Regions from separate parts of the Homo sapiens genome. Here regions 1, 3, 4, 5, 6 and 7 are each linked to region 2. Evidence: promoter capture Hi-C in 16 types of primary human blood cells and fetal thymus (Javierre and others, 2016). All regions are on one chromosome and are shown on one strand. The core of a region is centred on a gene start or on the middle of the fragment in contact, and the rest is flanking DNA. Distances in the headings are between cores, read along the strand shown.

The links. The method cuts DNA at HindIII sites, captures the fragments that hold promoters and counts their contacts. A CHiCAGO score of 5 or more calls a contact.
Region 1: a contact is called between a fragment that was not itself captured here and the fragment with the promoter of DST in region 2, in 1 of 17 cell types (erythroblasts). The highest score is 5.6, in erythroblasts.
Region 3: a fragment that was not itself captured here is called in contact with the fragment with the promoter of DST in region 2 in 1 of 17 cell types (erythroblasts); the score reaches 5.1 in erythroblasts.
Region 4: a fragment that was not itself captured here is called in contact with the fragment with the promoter of DST in region 2 in 3 of 17 cell types (erythroblasts, total CD4 T cells and endothelial precursors); the score reaches 7.2 in erythroblasts.
Region 5: a contact is called between a fragment that was not itself captured here and the fragment with the promoter of DST in region 2, in 5 of 17 cell types (erythroblasts, activated CD4 T cells, naive CD8 T cells and 2 more). The highest score is 7.3, in erythroblasts.
Region 6: a contact is called between a fragment that was not itself captured here and the fragment with the promoter of DST in region 2, in 1 of 17 cell types (total CD4 T cells). The highest score is 6.1, in total CD4 T cells.
Region 7: a contact is called between a fragment that was not itself captured here and the fragment with the promoter of DST in region 2, in 1 of 17 cell types (activated CD4 T cells). The highest score is 5.5, in activated CD4 T cells.

What each region holds. Positions count from the first base shown.
Region 1 is chr6:57,444,397-57,447,936 of GRCh38, forward strand. All of the region lies in intron 7 of PRIM2 (DNA primase subunit 2), which reads left to right. Among named protein-coding and RNA genes, the nearest start is that of MIR548U, 56 kb to the left of the region's middle. The HindIII fragment of the contact is 3,968 bases long and covers 1-3,322 here.
Region 2 is chr6:56,953,194-56,956,506 of GRCh38, forward strand. It overlaps DST (dystonin), which reads right to left and starts at 1,637. Exons shown (of 104, transcript NM_001374736.1): 1 at 1,214-1,637; 2 at 592-626. The coding sequence starts at 1,394. It overlaps BEND6 (BEN domain containing 6), which reads left to right and starts at 1,914. Exons shown (of 7, transcript NM_152731.3): 1 at 1,914-2,267. RefSeq lists an enhancer at 620-1,251 and a silencer at 1,413-2,102. The HindIII fragment of the contact is 5,182 bases long and covers 1-3,206 here.
Region 3 is chr6:56,539,044-56,542,644 of GRCh38, forward strand. The region is part of intron 61 of DST (dystonin); the gene reads right to left. Among named protein-coding and RNA genes, the nearest start is that of COL21A1, 290 kb to the left of the region's middle. RefSeq lists an enhancer at 3,148-3,601. The HindIII fragment of the contact is 2,391 bases long and covers 862-3,252 here.
Region 4 is chr6:57,384,823-57,387,943 of GRCh38, forward strand. All of the region lies in intron 7 of PRIM2 (DNA primase subunit 2), which reads left to right. Among named protein-coding and RNA genes, the nearest start is that of MIR548U, 3.7 kb to the right of the region's middle. The HindIII fragment of the contact is 1,723 bases long and covers 408-2,130 here.
Region 5 is chr6:57,345,909-57,349,487 of GRCh38, forward strand. The region is part of intron 5 of PRIM2 (DNA primase subunit 2); the gene reads left to right. Among named protein-coding and RNA genes, the nearest start is that of PRIM2, 30 kb to the left of the region's middle. RefSeq lists an enhancer at 1,047-1,547. The HindIII fragment of the contact is 8,245 bases long and covers 1-3,579 here.
Region 6 is chr6:57,419,348-57,422,926 of GRCh38, forward strand. The region is part of intron 7 of PRIM2 (DNA primase subunit 2); the gene reads left to right. Among named protein-coding and RNA genes, the nearest start is that of MIR548U, 31 kb to the left of the region's middle. The HindIII fragment of the contact is 1,528 bases long and covers 851-2,378 here.
Region 7 is chr6:57,367,369-57,370,570 of GRCh38, forward strand. The region is part of intron 5 of PRIM2 (DNA primase subunit 2); the gene reads left to right. Among named protein-coding and RNA genes, the nearest start is that of MIR548U, 21 kb to the right of the region's middle. The HindIII fragment of the contact is 525 bases long and covers 1,116-1,640 here.

The DNA.
Region 1 (3,540 bases), core at 89-2,588, 490 kb after region 2:
TCTCTACTAAAAATATAAAAATTAGCTGTGTGTAGTGGCGCACGCCTGTAATCCCAGCTACTTGGGAGGCTGGGGCAGAAGAATCGCTTGAACCTGGGAGGCAGAGGTTGCAGTGAGCCGAGATCGTACCACTGCATTCCAGCCTGGGTGACAGGGCGAGATTCCATCTCAAAAAAAAAAAAAAAAATTATGGTATTATAATGTCTATGTTAAATTTGTTTCGTTACTTGTAGGAATGGCAAAGTTGTGACAAAGCAGAAGAGTTCATAGATACATGTTTGTTTTACAAGGGCATTTTATGTGTTTTAGCAGAAAGGTTAACATTTTGACTGATATATTTACGAAGGTTATAAGAAGGAAAAGCTAAAATTAATATTTCACAATTCTAATTGCTTTTGCTTGGCTCCTCTCTGCATAGTATGTATTCTGGTTTTTAAATATTTAAAATTTCATCTCCTCTGGTGTAAAGTGGAAATGAAATAATTTGGGGTGGCAGATTTTTGTTAATGATAGTCTCCTTGCTCCTTTTTTAAAGCAGAGTAATGCTCATGTTGTATCTTTCTAGCATTAAGAAAAATTATTTGCTGAAATGACAATTTCTTAAGCAGTAACAACGTCTAGAGAGTGAACATTTATAACATGCTACTTTGTGTTGTGTGATAGATATAATTGATAATTCTGCTTTTTCCTGTTGACTAATTTCTAACTGTCATGATATATATCTTTCTGAAGTATTATTTTTGGTAGGTTCAGGCAGATTGCAGAAAGGCAGGTATCTTTGTTTGCCAACATTCTCGTATAATCATGGATTGTTAGAAGTGGAAGGGATTCAGAATGATTCTAGGGTATCTCTTCATTTTCATAGTTGAAGAAACTGAGACCCTATCAGGGGACAGAGTTAGGAGAGGGGTGTGTGTGTGTGTATATGAGTACGTAACAAAATCATGGGTTCCTACTGATATCTTCAGTTCTAACCTTGCATCTTGGAGTTGTTTGTAAATACCTCCTTTGGCAGTAACATAGCACCCATTATCCTCAATATATTTTATTTGCACAATCAAAAATAATTTTCTGTATGTAGACCTCCCAATTACACTGCTATCTTCATTGTTTATCACCTCTAGGCCATCTTTGTTCCTTTGCCACTGCACCTGTTGCCCTGGGCCTGTGCACACCCCCAACCCTTTCTCACTGCCCTGTGTCCTTAGCTACCTCAGCCACTATGCTGATTCCTGAATACTGGAGACAAAAGGGAAGGCAAGATGAAAAGGGAAGGTTATACTTCTTTATTAATTCACATAGATTACCCTTGGCTCTGCCTGCCACATTTTCATGAGAATTTCTTTTATTTTTCAGATTCCTCTCTTTATAGTAGCCTGAGAATCTCTAGGTAGTTACTCATTCTTAGAATTGGTCCTGGTTACTATTTTCACAGAAGAGAAACATGAAAATCTGATTACCAAAGGGGTTGTGCTTCCTGCAGTTCAGTGTAGTCTTTGTCCACTAGAAGGAAGAACATTGTTCTCCCAGCAGCCTGACACACCACAGTAATGTATGTGTATGCTGCCATTGCTGGTTCAGCATTTATTTCTGTTGGTGGAGTGAGGCTCAGCCATGGTCTTTCTAGTTCTGTAGTTACAGCTTCTTCAGAATACACAGACACACAAAGCCATTTCTTGGTAATTCACTCTGAGGAGTAAATACTTCCTCAGAGCCAGGGGATTGGTTGGGAGGAGTTTGCAGTTCTAGACAGCCAGATAGCATTGTTTCTGAAAAGACGTCTTGTAAAACTTTAGCATTCTGGCCCTTGAGCATAGAACAGTCCTTTCTGTTCTCAAATCTATTGTCTTAAGCCTTTTCCTACCTCAGGATCATGAGTAACTGTTTTTTTTGTTTTTTTTTTTTTTAGAAGTAATAGAAAACTTGCCTCAGAATAGCTTCAATAAGAAAGGAAATGAATGTGCTCAGATAACTGGCAGAATTCACTGATAGCATGGGCATAGGCCTGGCACACGCCACTTCTTTTTTTTTTTTTTTGAGACAGTCTTGCTCTGTCACCCAGGCTGGAGTGTAGTGGCACCATCACGGCTCACTGCAACCTGTGCTTTTTGGGTTCAAGCAGTTCTCTTGCCTCAGCCTCCCCAGTAGCTGAGATTACAGGCACCCGCCACCATGCCTGGGGCTGCTTTCCTAGATACACAGAAAACAAGGTGGATAGGTGAGAAGCACTAGAAATATCCATTCAGTTATTAGTGGGGATTAGGTTCAGGGCTGTTGTTTAAGGAGCCCTTAAACTTTAAATTTCAACACAGGAATGGAGGTCCCTGTGTAAGGATTGGGAATGGGACCTAATAACTGCTCCCTCAAGGTGAGTTGCGAGTCAGCTGGCCATCTCCATCTCCCATGCATTACCTTGATGTACCTTCCAGTCCACCATCTGCTTGTGCACCAGGCTGCACCTACTGTTCCATGATGGAAGGGAAGGTAGAAGTTGGGCTGGAAGGAGATGTTGGTCCAGATCTGGGTACATTTACCCTTGTGGTACCTCTTGGGAGCAAGAAAGTCCAGGCCCTGGAGCCTTCCACTGACAACTCTTGAAGGCCCACCTCAACTGAAGCCTCACTGATAGCACTTTCATGAGATGCTGGTCAGGGAAGAGCTTCTGATTTGGCCTAGGCTAGTGGCAGTGCCACCAGGCAATTGCTTAAAATCTTCTTTCTGCCAAATTCTGTGATGTATTAAAGTATGCGATACATGAAAATTGAGAGTGGCTTTGGTTTTGTTGTAGGTCTGGATCTATTTACCTTTATTAAGCTCTGGAGACTGACATATGATATTTTTAGATGTATGAGTGCAGATTTATGGAGATATTGGTTCTGGATTTAGTATGAGATGCTAAACCTGGTCCCCATTGTTCTCAAGGAGATGATTACAGAAGTGACACACATATGAAACAATTGAAGAACAAAGTAACACCTCTGTGGCAATTATTATTAAAGTTATTAGAGATTCAGAGATCAGATCCTTCTGGTGCAAAGCTAAGAGATGGGTATTAAGCTATTCCTGAAGACGAGCCAAATATGGGTAGTTGGAGAGGAAAAGGAAGGCAGGCATTCCTGAGAGAATGAGCATGGGTAGGAAGGTGTGATGAATGAAATAAACAGTGGGAGATAATGATCACATTGATTTAATTGAAGCAGAATCTATTAGGAGCATAGAAATAAACTTGACTAGGGTAAGATACCGTAATAGAAGGCTGTAGAAGTGAGGCAGAGTAAATTTGTATACTGGGAATATGGTATTTGTGGAACTATTAAAATCAAGCTTGTCAGCAATAGTTTCTTTAAGTATAGAAAGAAGTTATCTTTCACATGATTCATTCCAAATTGAAGAAATGTTAGAGAATTAGGAAAATCTTCTACTTTCTCATCAAAATGACCAAAACCACAAAAACATGTATGTATGCTTTGATAATTAATTGAAGGAAAATTCTGTATTTGGGATGCATAACCTTTTGTTTTTGGTATTATCCTAATAGAG
Region 2 (3,313 bases), core at 387-2,886:
GCTGGTTCCTGGGTGCAGTGATTAGGAGTTACTTGCCCTAGAGGGATGGTCCACGTTTTGAGAGTGGAGACTAGCACAAGCATTTAAGCACACACTACCATCATCGCTTTGCAAAAATCATCAGATGGTCCCCAATAAAACATGGAGAGCTTTAGGAGAAAACAGAAATGTAAACTTGAAAATCGAAAATGAAATGCATATGGATCAAATTGTTCTGCACTAACCTCTTCGTTTATCCAAGTGAACAACCAGAGTCAACTGACAGCACCCAGAAAACACTTCCACCAGCAAAATATAAACTGTAAACTCAAGTGACATCCACCCTGTGGCTAAGTTTTTTAAGGTCTGCAGCACTTTTAGGGTTTGCCTTTTCCCCTCTTGTACAACAGCTCCACTACACAAGAAATTTGCTAAAACCGTTCGCTGGGCACTAATATGAAATCACTTAAAAGGAAACATGCCACTTTCGGCTAGGGGACAGCATGTTCGTCATTCAGTGTCCTACTGGTTTCTTAACACGCATATAATTAATATTGGTACTCAGGAAAGAGAACTTCTTCTGACCTTGAGCGTGCGCGCTAAATAAATTACCTCAGAACGAAAGTGGTGCGATCTCAAAACAGCATCTGGGGAGAAAAGAGATAAATGAGACTTCATTTAACTCCTTGTTCTTCACCTACCGAGTGACTCATGACTTACCTGGGAGACCAGGGTTGGGAAAGCACATCGCAGACTCCTGGAATTCGGTGGGACATCCTGGGGGAGGGAGGAGGAGTCCTGGGGCCATCGGTCTCTACGTGATTTCTCCGCGAGAAGTTTGCATGAAAGTTCTGGGGGAGTTGGGGAGCCCCGAAGTTTCCATGCCTTACTTTCTTACCCCTACGCTCCAGCGAAGGATGCGTGAAGGCGAGGCTGGCGCAGCCCCGGACTACGCTCAAATTACCCTTAAGGCTTTAGCAAACTGACTAAAAATTTGAGTTCTTTCCTCCCCTCCCTGCCCTCGGCATCGCCGTGGTTATTCAAACCTGGGAGACTGGAGGGCGGAGGTGACGGCAAAAAGGGCAAGGGGCGTTAAAGAAACGCACTCAGCCTGGGGAGTGGGCAATGATGGGGCTAGGGGCAGCCGAGGAGAAGGGAGCGAGCCGCGCTTCACTCTCCAAATCGGCTTAATTGTTCCTGGTAGCCCGCAGAAACCCGTCGCGGCGTGTCTTACCTCGGCTTCTTGAACGACCCGAGAAGACCGATTTCATCGGATGCCTCCCTTTCTGGAGCTTGCGGTGCCAGCAGCAGAAGAAGACGATGGTGGCGATGGTGCCCAGCAGAAGCAACAAGAGGAAGAGGGCACATTGGATGCTGTAGGGTCTCAGCAAGACGAGGAAAGCCGCGGCGATCATGGTGCGGGCGAGGCGAGGGCGACTCGACGGCGGGGCTGGAGGGCGGCGGCACAGGCACCCGCGCTGGGCGCACGCCGGGACGGCGGGCACGGGTGAGCGCGGCTCAGCGCGTCATGCCTGGCGCTCGCGGCCCCGCGCCCAGCCCAATGGCTGCGCACCCCGCGCCAGCCGCGCTACGCGAGTGATCCAGGGCTGCGGGGAGCGCTTGCCATGACTCAGCAGACAGCGACGAGGCTGCGACTCGGCGGCTGGGATCCTCTCCCCTCCCTCCCCAGGCGCCCCCGCCCCCGTCCGTGCGCAGCCCCCGGGCGCAGCCCCGCCGGGGACGCGGCGAGTGGGGAGGAGCAGCGCCGCCGCCGCGGCCGCCCGGGCCCCGCGCATCGTCCTGCGGCCGCCGCCGACCTCAGCATCCCAGAAGCCGGGCGCACGTGGGTCGGGGCGGGGACGCGGCGCTCAGGCTGCAGCCGCGGCAGCCTGCGGGGGGCGGGAATGGGGCGCCGCGGCGGGGGCTCGGCTGATGACATCACGGCCAGGCTGCGGCAGCGCGGGCGCGCGGACATGGCTGCGGCGGTTTCGGCGGCGTCCGCGGGCTGCACCCGGGCCTGAGAGCCCAGCGCCCTCCCGCGGGGCCGCCCGCCAGTCCGCGCCGTCCGCGGGTGCATTGGCCGGGTGCCTCTAGCTTCCCGGACACCCGGAGCTTCCGCCTATCCAGCCTCCCTCGGCCAAATTGCTGCGGAGCCCGTCGTCAGGGGGCGCCAAGGAGCCAGGGGGAAAACCGAGAGGCGCTGACAGGAGCCTCCCGGCGGTGCTACCCTCCACCTCCCACCTCCCTGCGCCCCGCCCCGAGGTTGGGGCTTTGAAGAATGCAGCCGGGTGAGCTATTGCTTGTGGGGGTTTCCTCGCACTCTGAAGCGCGAGCGCCGGGAAGGGCCTTCCCTGGGAATTGGGATACTCCAGGAACGGGAGGCCCACTCCTCTCCAAGCCTCTCTAAACTAGGAGCGCTCCGGGGTAGTACGCTCTGGTCGGCAGAGGTGAACTCTTCCACCCCAAACTTGGTGCTTATCTCGCAGCTAAGAATTGGGCACTTTCGATCTTCTTGTATCCCTGGGTTTGCCCTAAAACCCTGACTCATTTAGTGCATTTGAAGGGCAAGGCGATTTCAGATTTAGGGACCTGGCAGATGAAGTAAGTTGGTACTTGGCTTATAAACATTTGGGGGAGAAATTTTTTAGGGAGTGTGAGGCAATAGTGATCTCTCACACTTGCAGGCACACTCTGTCTCCCCTTTGTCCCCTCCCCACGTTTCTTCATAACCAGCAAAAAGTATATGGCAGTTGGTGGCCAGGGGATTTAACACTGATGCAATGCCAGCACGGAAGGTATAGCGAGAGCGCTGCAGTGTGCCTTTCTGCGGACGGCCACGGCCACCTGGCCAGGAAGCGGCTGCTGCAGCAGTCATTCTGCGGCATCTTGCGGCCTTGGCGGGCGGTGCTGTGCCGCGTTCTGCTGCCCCCAAGGCAATGCTGGCTTTCCCTGTGTGGGGCTGGATTGTTTGTTTCATTTACTCGCATAAGAAAACTTTAATTATAGTGACAAGGTAACACTTGACTGCATTTGCGGAGTTTCTTATAACAACTGTATTAGCCTCTTTTTTGGAATATTTAATAGACTGAAGAAATTGTGTCATAAAAATTTATAAAAATTTGAAAAGCAGGTAAATAATTGGGAGGAATAAAAGTTTTATTTGCTTGTAGTGATCTCAAAATCAGTGTTGTTTTCCAACTATACAAAACCGTACAGCTCTGCATGAAAGCTTAATCATTGATGTCCTTAAAGCCAGTAACATATTACCGTGTGTAAGTATTAAACCTAAAAAGGCATTGGTTAATGCAGTCTCTTAGTGCCAGATTCATAAGCA
Region 3 (3,601 bases), core at 807-3,306, 410 kb before region 2:
CTGCTACCTTTTAAATTCCAGGAACTTGTAAATAAACATTCAAGGAAACGTTTTATTTTCCCTCTTATATAGTTTTCAGGACAAAAGGATAACAATAATGTTCTATTAAATTGCCTTAACCTCTGGTCTTGGTTTTAAATTAATTTCAGGGGTTTATATTGGAGTAGATCTAGGTAAATCTGATAGTTTTCTAAAGTGCCCCCAAAAATATACTAAGGATTTAAAAAGATAACTACTAAAGAGTATATACTCCCCTAAGATTTAATTGTTTTCTACAAATAAACTGAAATATCCTTTACAGAAAAAAATTAATTTGCTAAGCTTTTAAATTAGCATGCCATTTACTGCATGTCTAAGAAAAAGGCATAACTAACAAGAACAATTATTTCACAGACTGAGAAGAGGAACGGTTCTGATATTGTCTAAGTTCCTTATCTCTCAATGTTAACAAAATACCTATGAAGAGAGCCTTTCCCCCTAATCTAACCCACAGCACACAAGCATGAAGAGAAGTTTAAAATAAAATAAAACTACCTTTGAGGCCAAGTTTACCAGAAGAGTTTAGTAAAAGTACCAAAACAGCTGAACTTCAATCTGAGTGGGAAGAAAAAAATTACAGGCTTGACAAGCAATCTCTACTTATTACAAGGCTGCACCCTTTACTTTCTTACCTCATTCACCACTCACAAAAAGTTGGGAGCTATAATGCCTGCAAAGTACAGCATAATAACTCTACTCTCACATGCAGAGCTCCTGAGAGAAATTTTTCAACCTATTAAAAAAAGTCCTTAATGTGGATAGAGTACTTTGCAGGCCATAACAATATAATACTGTTTGTACCTTCATGACTAAGCCTGTTCAAGCTTAATAAATCCAATATAATGGCTCTTAAATGGCAGTGTCTTTACCACAATTTGTGTAAAAGCCTAACATTAACATATATTCACAGTGGAGGCCTTCTAAATGAAGGGGAATGGCCACCATCTGCACAATCAATAACAGGACCCTGAACAGCTGGGAATATCAATTCTTCTCCAAAACAGTCCCTATTAATTTGTTATAATTATCCATTTATCAATATGTGGCATCTTGCAGGGTGCTAGTCAAACCTCCAAAACAAAAGTGTGGATTTCATTATTATTAGAAACACTAGTGACCACTCTGAAACAGAACCACAAACTTTTAGCAGAACCGCAAACTTTTGACACTGCAGAGTTTCATATTTCCATGAATTACCTGAACCAACTGAAAGCCATTGCAGACTGTGTCCAATATTCCTGCCTGGGCCCCTGTTTTTCTGGGTGCTGCTTTCTTTCTTGCTGATACGAATTTCAGGGAGAACTTCTTATAGAGCATTTCGCTCTCCTGGGCAGAAAGAGGAGCCTCCACTTCCTCTTTAGATGCAATGTTGCATTCTCCTGAATCATATTGTGTCAAAAGTGTCACATTTTCTACTAAGCTGGTGCTACCACAATCTACATCACTCTCCCCTAGATCTGTGTGAGAGAGATCTAAATCTTGAGGGGAATCCTTCAAGAGTTCCCTACTTTGTGCTGTGATTTGGGATTCTCCAGGTCCGTATGTTTCGTCCTCTTCTCCAAGGTTAAAAATATGCTCATTTTCTCTATTTCTTGGCATAATTAATGGGTCACACTTCACAGGGCTCTCTTTCAAATTATTCTGCAGGCAACAATTTTCATCGTGGATTTCCCTTTGACCATTTACATGTTTTGCTTCCTCTAGTGGAGAAACATCATGTAAAATCATTTTGAAATTTTCATCAGGGTGGGCACTTTGACATGAAAGCAGTGGGATTTTCTGTTCGCTAATGGAATTAACAGAAAAAAATGGTCTGTATTGGTCTGTTACAAGAATATCTTCAGTAGAAGACAAACTTTTAATTCGTGACTGGTCTCCAGTTAAAATGCCCTGTTTTTCTTCCCTCTCTGCTGGAGGGCTACATAAACCAGAGTCATCCTCCTCCGAAGTGAGAGAATTAGTACCCCATCTGCACTTGCTGGCCTTGGTAACAGCATCTGACATATCAGCAGGTTCAACAAAAGAGCTTTCACTTTTGTTTGCATAATCCATAAAATTGGCCGGGACAAACATTCGCCATGACCGTCTATGCTCTTTCTTTTCCGCATGAGATTTGGCTTTAGGTAATCCTGTGGTTCGAATGATATCACTATTTAGTTTGAGTGCATCAAAGATCATCTTTTCATCTAGTTTGTTAGCTTCCCGACCTCTCAGCTCAAATACACTGGAAGAAGTAAGGGCACCATTAGAGCATAAAGAACTAACATCCAGTGTTCTGTGACTGTAGGGTAAAGTTCGATCTGTAAAATGCCTGGAAGATAGACTACCTTTTGAACCAGAGTCTATCTGTTCATTTAGTCTAACAGTATCATAGATTGACCGCTGTGGGACGTAACAGTCTTCGATATTTAGGTCCTCCTCTTCTTCACCCTTCCCTACACATGGGGGATTCTGACGTAAACAGTCTGGTCTGCTGAGTGGCTTCCCCATTTTGCAGATAGTTAAAACAAATATTGCAGCTCTTGACACAGATAAGAAATAAGATAAAGCATCTTCCAAAAAAGTATACTTCTGAACAGAGCTATGGAGTGTCTTTAGCATAAAGACACATGCTCAAATAATATATTTCATAATACATGAGGTGTTTAAGGTCATCAGCAGTGCATCAGTATAAATGCAACTATCCTTTTACCTGGTTGATTTTAGGATGATTCTAAACAATAAAGTGCATCAATAACAGAGAACAAAAATCTCCTTTGTCCACCTTTCCCAGCTCCCAAAGTCCCCGTTCACACACTCCAAAACACAGAAAATAAACAAACACACACTTAACAGTGGCTCAAACACTCAGAACATTCCATTGTCAGTCCATTTCCCTTTTTAGTCTGATATTTCCAGATTAAAATTTCCAAATGAGCAAGCATTTTAACAGCCTGAATGTTAATTTCGGCAGAGCTCTGGTTAACTGTAATCCACTTAAAGATGGCTTGCAGAACTCCACCATTCTGGTAAATAAACCATGCTCCAGAAATTTAAAAGACAAACACAGGGACCTGGTATTGTTCACATCAAGGCACAGAACAAATCTTCAGAGAAAAATAAGTTAAGTCTAACGTTATGAGAAAGTTACATTTTTCTTTTACTTTTTTTTTTTGGAGGGGGGAGTAGCTATAAATAAACTTGATTGAAAAGGCAGGTTTTCTTCCTGTTTTAAGCTTCTTCAATGCTATTCAGAACTACTCAAAGGAAGAAAGAAAAAAACACCAGACTTTTAGACACCCAGGGCAGTACAATCCAGCAACCGTTTAAAGTAAACAGAAAGCATGGTGTACTACTAAGCTTCTTTAAAAAAAAAAAAAAAAAAAAAAAAAAAGCCATTTCCAAAGATTCTTATCTGGTCCTCCTTAGGAAGGCTTATTCCACCTGAGGCAATTGCAGCAACGAAGAGCTCCGCGGCTTCCTCTAAGGCACAGGCAGCGTAATTCACATTGAGCAGAAAACCCAGGGACTACATTAGCCTTTGAAACTGAACCAAGTTCTGTGGCCGCGGTATGGCCTTCAT
Region 4 (3,121 bases), core at 19-2,518, 430 kb after region 2:
CAAGCCAAGCTGCCCAGTGCCCAAAAACCTAACTATGAAAATGCATCTGAAATTCTTTTACTTTTGGGTTTAAAGCTACTTCTGATTTTGTGTATTGCAAAGTTTAAATAAATTTTTAATAAGTTTTGACTGTTTTATAAATTTGCCTTGAAAGCAACTTTAAAAATGTAAAAAAAATTTTACATTTGCCACACATTTTTATTTTAGATAAGTCAAGATATTCTATGTATATTTGTGATTTATCATCCCAATATTCCAGTGTAGAAAGAAGGATATGTGGCAGATTTTTGCAAAATTTTACAATTTTTTTCTACTTTCTGGGTAGAAGTGGGGGATCTATACTGAGAGAAAAGACAGAACTTGGGTTCCTAAGTTTGTAATAAATTCATTTCAGCCAACTGCACCTAAGCTTTCTACCTTGTTGTTAAGAAATAAGAGTATTTATGAACTTTGAATTCCATTCTTCTTCACTTCTTTCTACTCATTCTTCCCCTTCCAAACATACTTTTTAAAAAATTAATACTTTAAAAAAATTTGAAATATCACAGACTTACAGAAAATTAAGTAGAAAATAGCAACTTTTTCTTTAAACCATTTGAGAATAAGTTCCCAGCCTGATGTCTTGGCACCCCCAATACTTGTTAGTGTTTATTTCCTTCAAACAGAACATTTTCCTGCATAACCACAATTCAACATCCAAATAAGAAAATTAATGTTTATAAGTTACTACCATCTAACCTCCAGACCCCATTCAAGTTTCACCAGTTTTCTCAATCACATTCCACAGGCAATTTTAATTCACATGTATTATTTAGTTGTCACGTCTCTTTAATCTCCTTCAGTCTGCAATAGATTCTTAGTTTCTCTTAGATTTTCATGGACTTTGTTACTTTTGAAGATTATCAGCAGTTATTTTGTATCTCTCAGTTTGGGTTTATCTGATGTTTCTGCCTAGATTCAAGTTAGACATTTCAAGTAGTACTGTAACAGAAGTTATGCTATGTTCTTTTCATTGCATTCTATCAGATTACATGATTTTGATTCAGCCCAATTCTGATTGACTTTATCAAAATTTATCCATTCTATTGTTGATAGGCATTTGGCTTTTGTTTTCTTTTTTTTTTTTTGGTTATCACAAATACTGCTGCTCTGAACATTGTAGCACATATTTTGGAAAACATATTTCTGTTGGTTATGTGTTTAGGAATGGAATTGTAGGGTATTGAGTATATCTGTGTACAGCTTTAATGGATTTAGATTTACTTTAAATGGATTTATTCTGGCTGAGTGGGGTGGCTCACACCTGTAACCCTCGTCCTTTGGGAGGAGGAGGTGGGAGGATTGCTTGAGCTCAGGAGTTTGAGACCAGCCTGGGCAACATAGTGAGAATCAGTCTCTACTAAAAACAACAACAACAACAACAGCAACAACAACAACAACAACAAAATAGCCAGTCGTGGTGGCATGTGCCCGTAGTCCCAGCTACTTGGGAGGCTGGGGTGGGGGGATCACTTGAGCCTGGGAGATCAAGGCTGCAATGAGCTATAATCATGCCATTGCACCCCAGCTTGGGCGACAGAGTGATACCCTGTCTCAAAAAAAAAAAAAAAAAAAAAAGAACGAAAGAAAGAAAGAAAGAAAAGGATTTGTCCTGATTACAGGTGGGTTGTGGAGAGTTCTGGCCTTGGTGTCTTGGATTTAATAGAAGACAGACAGTGACTTGCTTTCTCCTGGGTGGTTCAGGGCCGAGCCTGGTTGAGAGGAGGTCCAGAGAACACTTTTTCTTATGTAGGAGAGTGGTGGGAGTTGTTGCCTGGGAGCCTGTCCTGACAGCTGTGGAAAGGAGCAGGAGGGAAGCGAAGGAGTTCATTTAGGGCTGTGGCGAAGTAGAAATCTAAACCTATTGCTATGGTCTCTTTATTACTGTCCTTTCCATTGAGGAAGGTTTTGACCTTGGAGTATGTAATTGAAAACTTTCAGCTTTATAAATGGAAATATTCTTGTAGGATAAGAAAAAGTACCCTAAAGTAGATTTTTTGAAAGGTATTTTGATGAGTGGTAGAGGATGAAATAAATGGTTCTGGGGGAAGTTGTAAATTGATGAGAGTTTTACCCCAGGTGACAACTGAAAGCTTATTCTTAACCTGTGACCATATGACTTTTATAATATGACTATCTAGCTTTTGAACATGGTTTAGGACTGATAAAAAATTGACATTACTTTTTCCTTTGATAGGAACTCTGTGGCCCAGAACCTTCCCTTTAAGTCCCAAGATTGTGCTAAGTATATCTCCTTTGTGTTCCCACAGCATTCTGCACACGACCAAATTACGGTGAAATTATTCTCATTATGTGTTTTCCTCCTCAATTAAAATGTAAGTTCTTTGAGAGTGAGGAATTTCTCTTAATTCAAATTTTTATCTGGTATAGCATGTGGCACATAGGGTTAGTGGTCAGTAAAATTTTATTGAACTGACAGATACCAAATAATGATATAAACTTGCTTTTGTTCACAGTTTACTGTTTATACATACTGTTAATCCCACTATAAGTCACTGAGAGAGAAAGGGGTTATAATGTGCATTATATGGATGAGGAAAATGCAGCACAGAGAGGCCAAAGTAATTTGTCTAAGATTATGTTGGCTAATAATTGCTGGAGCCCTGACTTGATCTCAGGTTTTCTGATTGTAATTCTTAGGGTCTTTTGATGGTAACTGTGCCTTTGTCAGGAGTTGTATAACCAGGTGATTTAGGTCTTCAAACTCTGATAAAATATTCAAAGGTAAGTATATTAAGGTCCAGTCACAGAGCAGGCCCAAGGGGTGAATTTGGAGCTACGGTAGAATAGATTGATAACCAGTTAGGGAAAAGAATGAGGGAAAGATAGATTTTTTTTGCTTCATATGGCAATTTTAGAAGCTATAGCCAGTTCTTTTATTTAATGGTTTATTTTTAAATAACTTTTTATTTGTTCATCCATGCATAGGTTTGGGTACTAGAGATACTACTTAACAAATTAGATGAGATTTCTTCTCTTACAAAGCTTATATTCTAGTGGGAGACAGACAATTACTGAAGAAATAAACAATAACAATATTGTAAATGACATGAAGGAGCCA
Region 5 (3,579 bases), core at 551-3,050, 390 kb after region 2:
AATTTTTGGATGTTGCCATGGCATTTGTAAACTGTACTGGTGCTGGTGGGAGTATCTTTTAGCATGCTAATGGATTATAATTAGCATATAGTGAGCAGTAAGGATGACCAGAGGTCACTTTTGTGGCCATCTTGGTTTTGGTGGGTTTTGGCTGGCTTCTTTAATGCATCCTGTTTTATCAGCAGGGTCTTTAGGACCTTTTGTCTTGTCATAGCCAGTCTTGCTGACCCTTTGTCTCATCCTGTGCCTGAGAATGCCTAACCTCTTGGGAATGCAGCCCATCAAGTGCGAGCCTCATTTGATCCAGCCTTTGTTCAAGATGGAGTTGCTCTCGCTCTACTAGAGTCTTTTGGCAGTGTTACTCATGGTTTCTGAAGGTGTTCTGAAAAAAGATACTGAGCTTTTAAATGTATACTTTTTTTTTTTGAGACGGAGTCTCACTCTGTCGCCCAGGCTGGAGTCCAATGGCATGATCTCAGCTCACTGCAACCTCCTCCGCCTCCTGGGTTCAAATGATTCTCCTGCCCCAGCCTCCCGAGTAGCTGGGATTACAGTCGCCCACCACCATGCCTGGCTAATTTTTGTATTTTTGGTAGAGACGGGGTTTCACTATATTGGTCAGGCTGGTCTTGAACTCCTGACCTTGTGACCCGCCTACCTCGGCCTCCCAAAGTGTTGGGATTACAGGCGTGAGTCACCACGCCCAGCCATGTATACATTTTTAAAAATTCCATAATCTTTATAATCTTTCCCTCTTTCCTCCAAGTTCCCTGAAAAGTTAATTCTTTTTGGCTGAAGTCTTGTGTCATGGTCTAGTTCAGAGTCTAGGTCAGATTGCCTTATCCTAGGTCTTTTGGATGAGAATAAGAACCAGGGATGTGGAGGGCAAATGGAGTTGTAAAGGTAATCATTTTGTGTTCTCAGTCTTTGAGTGGCTTAATCTGAGTTACAAAGGGAGGAGGAAGTAGTTGCGTAACAAATCCATTTGGTCCAGGCCCTGTGAATATATCCATTCTGCTACTCCCCACCCCTCTGAAGGCATACAAAGGACAACAGCACAGTTAATACCCCTATTCTGGACTTGTCTCCATTTATTCTCTGCTTGCTTCTGTTTGTTTATCTCCATGACTTTCAAATACCTTGTGCTGTACTTCGGCTATTGATACCTGCCTCCTGTCTGGCTTTGTTTCCTGTTCATCTCTGGTCAAAGTGTGCTCTCCCCATTCCAGGAGAATCCTTCTGTTATCTTGGAGCTTAATAGCCAAATATATTCCAATTCCCTTTAGTTGGTCCAAGGAATAAGGCTTCTGTATGAATATTGGAAAACCCAGAGGACTGTTTCCAGACTTGGATGGGGTCCTTGTTTTCTAAAGGAGGAATATTTATTGATGACTGTATAAGTAGTGGACTTATTAAGGTTTAGATTTATCTGGTGATATAAGGAGACTGAGGAGAGATTATCACTAATAGCTAACATTTGTAATGTGTTTGTTAAGTGCCAGGCACTTTGGTAAATACTTCACATGGGTAAAAAAATTTAACTTCTTCTTCTGTGGTAGAGACAGTTTTGCTCTGTCGCCTAGGCTGGAGTGCAGTGGTGTGATCACAGCTCACTGCAGCCTTGAACTCTTGGGCTGAAGTGATCCTCCCACCTCAGCCTCCCAAGTAGCTGGGAATACAGGCGCATGCCACCCTGCCTGGCTAATTTTTTCTTTTATAGAAATAAGTTCTTACTGTGTTGCCTAGGCTGGTCTTGAACTTCAGGCCTTAAGTGATCCTTGCAACTTGGCCTCCCATAGTGCTGGAATTACAGGTGTGAGTCACTGTGACCAGCCAGGTTTATGTAATTTAATCCTCACAACAGCTCCATGAGGAAACTGAAGCTCAGACAGGTTAAGTAACTTTCCTTAAAATTAGTCTTCTAAATATTTAGAGATGTATAAGTCACAAAGCATGTTACTAAATATATGAGTAGATTTCTTCACAGCTTAACTATTGAAATGAAGTGGAATAGATGCTGACATTTAAGGTGACAGGGCCCATCAAAAGTGCTATACAAACACAGGTGTGAGTTTAGAGATTTACATTAGTTTCGGAAATTAAAGCATTAACTATAATTTTACTGAGATGTTTCATTTTAGCTGACAGTTGTTGGCAGGAATGGAAACCAAATATATTAAATATACCATTGGTAGCTTTCTCGGTATAATATTGCCATCTCTAGGGAAAACATTATATTCATCCAACTTAGTCGTTGAGGGGTTTGTTTTCTAGCCCGTAGTTTTTCTATGCCCTTTTTGTTTTTCTTCTCTGCTACCTTTTGTTTATCTTTTTAAAAACATTTTTCAGATCACATTGTATATTTTAGTTCATGTTCAACAATTAACTCATGTATAATATTCAAAGATCAGTGTAAATCAAAATCCAGGCAGTAGGTAAAAAATATATTTTTAAAATTTTAAATTAAGTTTTATCAGGCAGTAGATTTTGTACTTGAAGTGGGAGTCATTATTTTAATAGGCCAGGAAAAGAAAAGTTATGGACTTGAGTTGGTTTTTTTTACTATCTCACAAGAGAGATGCCATAGAGGAAAGCCTACTGTTTCAAACTGAGCCTTTCACAAGGATGGCTTGTTGGTTCAGTCCAGTAGTTCTGGACTATAGGGGTTATAGTCACCCCTGCTGGATATTTTGGCCATCTTTATGGTATTTTTGGTGTTTGTAAAAATGATTGGCAAGTCCAACAGGTGTTTAGTAGACAGGAGATGGGGATGCTGGTGCATTTACAGTGCACTGAGTAGTTCTGTACAACCACAGATTTTCCCACATCCTTCCTGCCCTTTTTTTTTTTTTTTTTTTTTGAGACAGAGTCTCTCTGTTGCCAAGCTGAAGTGCAGTGGCGCGATCTCGGCTCACTGCAACCTCTGCCTCCCGGGTTCAAGCTATTATCTGCCTCAGTCTCCCAAGTAGCTGGGACTATAGGTGTGTGCCACCCCGACCAGCTAATTTTTGTATTTTTAGTAGAGACGGGTTTTCACCATTTTCGTCAGGATGGTCTTGATCTCTTGACCTGGTGATCTGCCTGCTTCGGCCTTCCAAAGTGCTGGGATTACAGACGTGAGACACCATGCCTGGCCTCCTTTTTGACTTTTTATATTCATGTGAACAACAACAGAAACCCAGAAACCAAAAAACTAAACTGTTTCTAATTATCTGAATCTACAACTAAACACTGTTCTATAAATCAACACAAAATATTTTTCCCCCATATTTTTGGTATACCCTCATTGTTCCTGGACTCCAACTAGCCTATGAGTTGAGGAAGATAATACTTTGTTTCGTTCTGAGTGTTTCTGAGTTCGCTTTTTTGACAAAGAACATCACTGATGTGGTATTTGAAACACCAATGCACACACCGTGTCAGTTTGCATTGGTAGGTGGGTTATTCCCGATGTTTTTGCTGATGGGTATGGTATCTAACTACTTGATCATGTAGTCTAGGGCACTGTGTCTGATCAATTATGTATGCCACTATTTTTTTGTTTTAAATTTTTAAATATTTTATATATATTTAGTTATG
Region 6 (3,579 bases), core at 365-2,864, 470 kb after region 2:
TTGGTGTCCAATAGGGTTCACTTTGGTGTATGTGATACAGTGACAAAAGTTTCTTGTTATTTCCAATTTATAAAGCCTGTAATGGCATTGAGGAGGTTTTTGGTGGTCTGTACTGTGTGGAGGAGGAACCAGCTATGACAAAGGGAGGGAGTATTTACTGGTCTTAGGAACAAGGTGTGGTTTCCTAGGGCATAGTGGCTGGCATCATGCAGGCAGGGAATTTGGGCTCCAGCCAAATACTCTGAGCTAGAGACTGGGTCCAGTTCCAGCAATTCTGTTAATATATATTTACCAGACTCTGGTATGATTTTGTATGAATTTATTATAGGATTGGAGATGAGGGCAGGAGGGAGGGGTAGTATGTAGTAGTGGTTGCATTCATATTTAACCCTCGGTTTTTGAATAAAGTCTTACATTTGGGAATTTTTTTTTAATAAATAAAATGTCTTGCTAATGTAAGTGTTACTCCCACCAATATAGAAGACAGCACTCAAATTCTCATTCTCTTTTGTAACCAGATCATAAGCATATGACTTATACTTCGTTGATTAGACTCACCTCTCACAGGACTTTGATTTGGAACTGAGGAAACAGAACAGGACTTTGATTTGGAACTGAGGAAACAGAATCTTCATCGAGCTTTTGTGTTTGGTGGTGGCAGTGGTGGATGTGAGCAGAGACTTTCTGCCTTTGGTGGCAGCAGTGTCTTTTTGGTGGTTGCTAGATTGATTTCCCACAGTGGGAGTGGTTTTCTTTAGTACTCTGTGGGATGCTAAACAGCAGTGATGGCCATTTTCTATTAATAATTAGTCCTGTTTTAGAACTAATTAGTTCCTCTTTTGAGCCTGGAAGCTTAACTTTAAGAATAGTTTTTTGGCCAGGCACAGTGGCTCGTGCCTGTAATCTCAGCACTTTGGGAGGCCAAGGCGGGTAGATCACGAGGTCAGGGGTTCAAGACCAATGTGACCAACGTGGTGAAACCCTGTCTCTACTAAAAATACAAAAATTAGCTGGGTGTGGTGGCGTGCACCTGTAATCCCAGCTACTCAGGAGGCTGAGGCAGGAGAATCCCTTGAACCCAGAAGGCGGAGGTTGCGGTGAGCTGAGATTGCACCATTGCACTCCAGCCTGGGTGACAGAGGGAGACTCCATCTCAAAAAAAAAGAATAATATTTCATCTTCCCAACAATTCTGTGAGCTTCCTAGTAGCCTTTTAATAAACTCATTTTCTGCTAGTCAGCTTCTTCCATGTTCAGCTAACAATCTTAGCTGGTCCTGGGTTGATTAGAAGATAAGGCAGCAAAATGAAGACAGAGGCTTTTTGATATCTGCCAGGATGGCTAAGAATTGATCCAAAATCCATGGGGACTTGGTATCAGATTGTATTTTGGGGTGAATTGGAGGAGGAAGGAAAATAACTATGTTGATAGTAGGTCTGTTTGGATGTTGGAGGGTATGGAACAATGATTTTAGTTTTGGACATGTTTACTTTGAGATGCCATAGAAATATTCACTTGTGGAGATATCTGGCATGTAATTGGAAATGTAATTCTAGCATTCAGAAAAGAGATCAGGGATAGTAGTGACAGTTATTCAAGGTTGCATTGAAATTGGATTAGAGTACTAAGGGTAGCAGCATGAAATGGGGAGAAAGGAGAGGCTTTTCACAATTACAGGGCAGATGGTGGAAGGAGACAGTGAAGAAATCTGAAAACGAATCTTCTAGAAGGATGGAAGAGCACTCAGAGAAGCTCAAAGATGGTAGACCAAGGAGCAGATAGTCAGGAGTATGAAGACTGAGAAGAGGCCATTGTATTTAGTGATTTTCAAGAAAGTCATAGAAAATAGAACAAAACCTTACAGTGGTGAATAAAGGACTAAAGTAATATCTGGAACAAAAGAGATTAAATAAAATTTGAGTCAAAAATTTTATTAGACATATTTAGAGCCCAAATCACAAAATAAAGTTTGAAACCAGAGACACAACCCCTATCTTTTTCCTTAACAGATTTTTATCAGGCTAGTTGTTAAGTTTGTCTATTTGAGTAATGGCACTGATATATCAAATTCTTTTGTTTTAATGAAGCAACAGCTCTCTAGTATGCAAAACTTGGGAAAATATTTTGCTTTACAATTTTAGTGTTCATTAAGCCTTATTATGTAAGCTGTAAGCAAATGTTAGAGAATTTTAAATGTTTGTGACATCTGTGTTTTTATTGTGAATGTGAGTTTTCTTTTGTAAGTATTACAATGATCATTGTTAACAGTTTGACCTTGCTTTACATTTTTGCCAGACTATTCAGTGATAGCTATTTGCATGCTGTCTTTCCTTTTATTTCAGCTTTCCATCCCACTTCCTCTTATGTTGCCAAATGAGAAGCTTGACTATTGGTGGTTAGAGTCTCTGCCACTCAAGATTTTCATTTTTCTGTATTTTGAAGTACTGTCTTTGTATGCTTTTCTTTTCTCCATTCAAAGAGCAGTCTCTTTACATTTGATATTCTGATAGAATTTATCTGCTGAAAATCAAAGTCTGTGCTCCTTGAATTCTGGCTTCAAAATAATCATCTAGAATAGATGTAAGATACTAGAACCAGATGAAAGATTCAAAAGATGTCAGTCTTAATTTATAAGTTTATTATCTACAAGACTGGATCTTGACTGTACCAGTCTTAAAAATATATCTTGCATTATAATTTGAGCTATGACATTTCATCAAACGTACAGTTTAAATTTATAGAACTCTTTTTTTTGCATTAATTTATGTAGTCAAATAGAAGACATTAAATTCAAAAGTATTTCTTTTCTTTCTTTTTTTTTTTTTTGAGATGGAGTCTCTCTCAGTCGCCCAGGCTGGAATGCAATGGTGTGATCTCGGCTCACTGCAACCTCTGCCTCCTGGATCAAGTAATTCTCCCACCTCAGCCTCCCAAGTAGCTGGGATTACAGGCACCCACTTTTTGTATTTTTGTAGAGACAAAGTTTCACCATGTTGGCCGGGCTGGTCTTGAACTCCTGACCTCAGGTGATCCTCCCGCCTTGGCCTCCCAAAGTGCTGGGATTACAGGTGTGAGCCATCATGCTCAGCTGAAAATATTTCTTAAAGATTTATATTTTCTGTCATTATTTTATGCAGTGCTTTAAAATTAATTGCTATTAACTTTTAATTAATGGAATATGATGACCTGAGTATTATTACATATCACAGAACTTTAATGTAAAGATACATCAATGAAATTTAGAATTTTACTTAGATACCAAGTTAATATACCAAAAATCCATTTAGACTAATTTTATTAAAACAAATGTATCAGAATTTCAGTGGCAATAATACTGTTTACATTTTTTTGATGGAATTCTTTTTTTTTTACATGGTATGGCTAGTATACAAATGATAGGGTTTTATGCTAAACAGGTTTTTTTTCCCCACATGCAGCAGAACTCTGCTTACATTATGACCTTTCAGAATAAATTGGCAAGCAGGTCAGATACCAAGAGCTAAGAAAGGATGGAAACAAATGTAGTATTTTGCAGGTGAATTTTTGAGATGCCCCATTTACTTGAAATTTTAAATAATGG
Region 7 (3,202 bases), core at 128-2,627, 410 kb after region 2:
AGTACTTTGTAAGAACTGGATTACAGATAGAAAAAAATGTTTAAAACTAACTTATTTTAGGTTGATAAATATTTGGGTTATTTATCACTGTGTCAGAAATACCTCCAAACCTAAAACAACAATTCCAAAACCTAACATTAAAACTTAAAATCAAAACTTAATTCTAAAACTTAAAACAGTACCCATCTTATTATATCTCACACTTTCGAGGGTTAGGGATTCAGAATGGGCTTACAGGGCAATTGTTCTGTTCCACATAGTATTATATATGGGCTTTCTTAGTTGACAACTAGTCTGGTCTAGGATGTCTAAGACAGCTTTACTCACATGCTTGTGCATATGTGAGGACTTCTAAAAGGCTGGACTCTGCTGGACGCCTTTCCATGTGATCCCTCAAACGAGGTGGTTGGACTTCTTACTTCATGATCTAGGACTCCAAGTGAACAAGGCAGAATCTGCCAGTCCTCTCAAAAAATAGGCCTGGGCCTGGCAGGGCATCACTCGTTCCTGTCAAAGTAGTCACAGGCCAGGCCAGATTCAAGGGGAGGGCAAATAGATCTTAGCTCTCAACGGAGGATGTGTCAAAGACTTTGCAGCCATCTTTAATCCCCATGTACTCCAGATTGATGATTACATCACAGTGCATTTGGGAAACAAATTGCCCTTTATAATCACAGTATTTGCTACCAATATAGAACCTATATTTATTTGAAATGATAATAACAGTATTAAAAATTATGATATTTGCTTTCAGCATTTGATCTATTCACAGTTTTAATTTCTTTATAAATGAAATGATTCCTAATTGTTTTATATATATCATATATATATCATACATTTATTTTAGAAAAGCGGATTCTTTTCCTGGGATATGCTGTTTAGACCAGTGATGTATGTCGAACCACTAATGGACCTTAAAAAAAAACATACAGCTCAGGGCTTCAGTCTGTAGGTCTGGGTGGCACCAGGAATCTGTAATTTTAAAAAGCTTCACTGGCAAGTAATGTACATACTTACTTAATGACCAGGGTCTAAGAAAGCTCTGTAGATTCAAATAGAAACTATCCAAACTATTTATAAATGTGATTGAGTATTGTTGATTGGAAGCTTATAGAAGCTTAAATCTCTGGGAAGCCTTATTTATATCTTTACTTTTGATGCCAGTGTACTAGACTAGTGGTTCCAACATGGCATCCCCAAGATGATCATTTGGGAATGTGGGAAAGAAATAAATAATACAACATATATTTTTAGTCTCATCCGTTCCACATTTTGGGGATGGGTATGGCATGTTTTAAGTGCAGAATGTACAGTAATACATACATATAATTTATAAATAAATATACATATATTGGAAGTATGTGCTGAAAAAACTTCATTGATGACAATGTGTGATGCAAAGATGAAGGTCACTGTTCCAGTCAGTTTAGTTTATGCATTGGTAACGACCCCCAAACCTCAGTGACTTATAGAAAGGTTTGTTCCTTGTTCATATTCTGTGTCTTCATGGGCCAGCTACAACCCTGCTGTGTGTCATTTTGTCCCTGGACTCAGGCAGATCGAGTAGGCTCTGTATACCGGAACTTCACCAGTTGCTGCGGCAAAAGGAGGAGAGAACTGGGTAAAATACATGCTCAGAAAGCTTTTGCTTAGGAATAACACACGTCACTTCCACTCACATTTCACTGGCCAAAGCAAGTCACTTGGCTACACTTTAGTTCAGCAGGTAGGGGGTGTATAATTCTCCCTCAGTGAGGGACTCAGTACAGGGTGAATAGCGATACAGTCTACACAGACATCCACTACCCTTCTATTTACTGTGTAGAGTATTTGCCTCTCTAGAGCTGCTCCTTAATCTGCTTTCAGGATTTCAACAGAGTGAAATTGCCTCTCTCAGTTCCTGGTTTGATGAAGAATATAAAAAAGAAAAAGACACACAGCCAAAATCCTTAATTCTGTTAGCAAGGCAGCATATAAAACAACATAATTTTGGAATATGGAAATATAACTTTGCCAAAACAGTTAAAACCCAGTGTAATTTTTACTTGATAAAAAACTATACCGTTATACCATGTGCTACCATTTGAAACATTCAGGTACTGACTGTTGAGTGGGTGGATATGAATAATAGGGATTGAGATGTGGGGAATTATGAGTAGTAGTGGCAAGAGCAGAACTTCAAAGCTAGAATGTTCAGAGTCTCTGTTGATTGGACATTAATCAGAGTGAAGGTTGAGCATCTCTAAAATAGTAATGTAAGTCACTCAAAAAATGTGTGTTTCATGTTGAGCCATTTGTTTATACACCTCTTTTTAGGAGGATGTTTACTTTGTGAAGCATACTACACCTTGATTATAAGATGTTGCAGTGATAACCTAGCTGGCTTTTATCAGTTATTTTGAATTCCCCTATACACCAAGACCTGTGTTAGTTTAATGAAATGACAAGTTTATAGAAACTGCATTAGTTGCAGTAAACATTTCACTTTATTACTTGAGGAAAAAGCCTGAAATACAGAAACTAATCAAAATGTAAATTACAGGTAGTAACAACAAGTGTTTACCATGTACTAAGGGTGTGCTGTATGTTAGGCCTATTGTACACACTTTACATACTTTATTTAATCCCAAGAAAAGCTACATGAGATAGGTATGATTTTCTTCATTTTATCCCTGAAGAAACTAAGGTGTAAAGAGGTTAACTAACCTGTTTAAGATTCAAAGACAGGTTTCTATGATTTTGAAAACTATTCTCTCTACTACTTTACTCTGCTTTTATAATTGTTCCACTCTATCTGTTTTTACTTGTATTCTTTGTTAGTAGAAGTAGGAAGCCATTTAATCTTGTCTTGCTCTTTCAGAGAATGAGTATTTTTTTTAGGTATGCAGCAGGTAATCTCATTTAGGAGAACCTAAATAAATGAAATATCCTTATATTTTGTCCAATAGTTTTTAAGGAGAAAGCAAGAGTAAAGAGAATATTCAGGATTATTTTAGGATTTCAAAATAATGAAGTTAATAGCAGTTTATACTAATTATTTAATAGTAAAGTTTCTGACAGTCATCCTACATTTTTCAATGAGAATTGTCTTGTATTTTCCATTTCCATTTTGGTTATAACTAAATAGATAAATGAAGATTTAGAATTTGTTTGACAAATGGATGTATTTTTTAATTCATCAAAGAAAACCAGAATATTTACT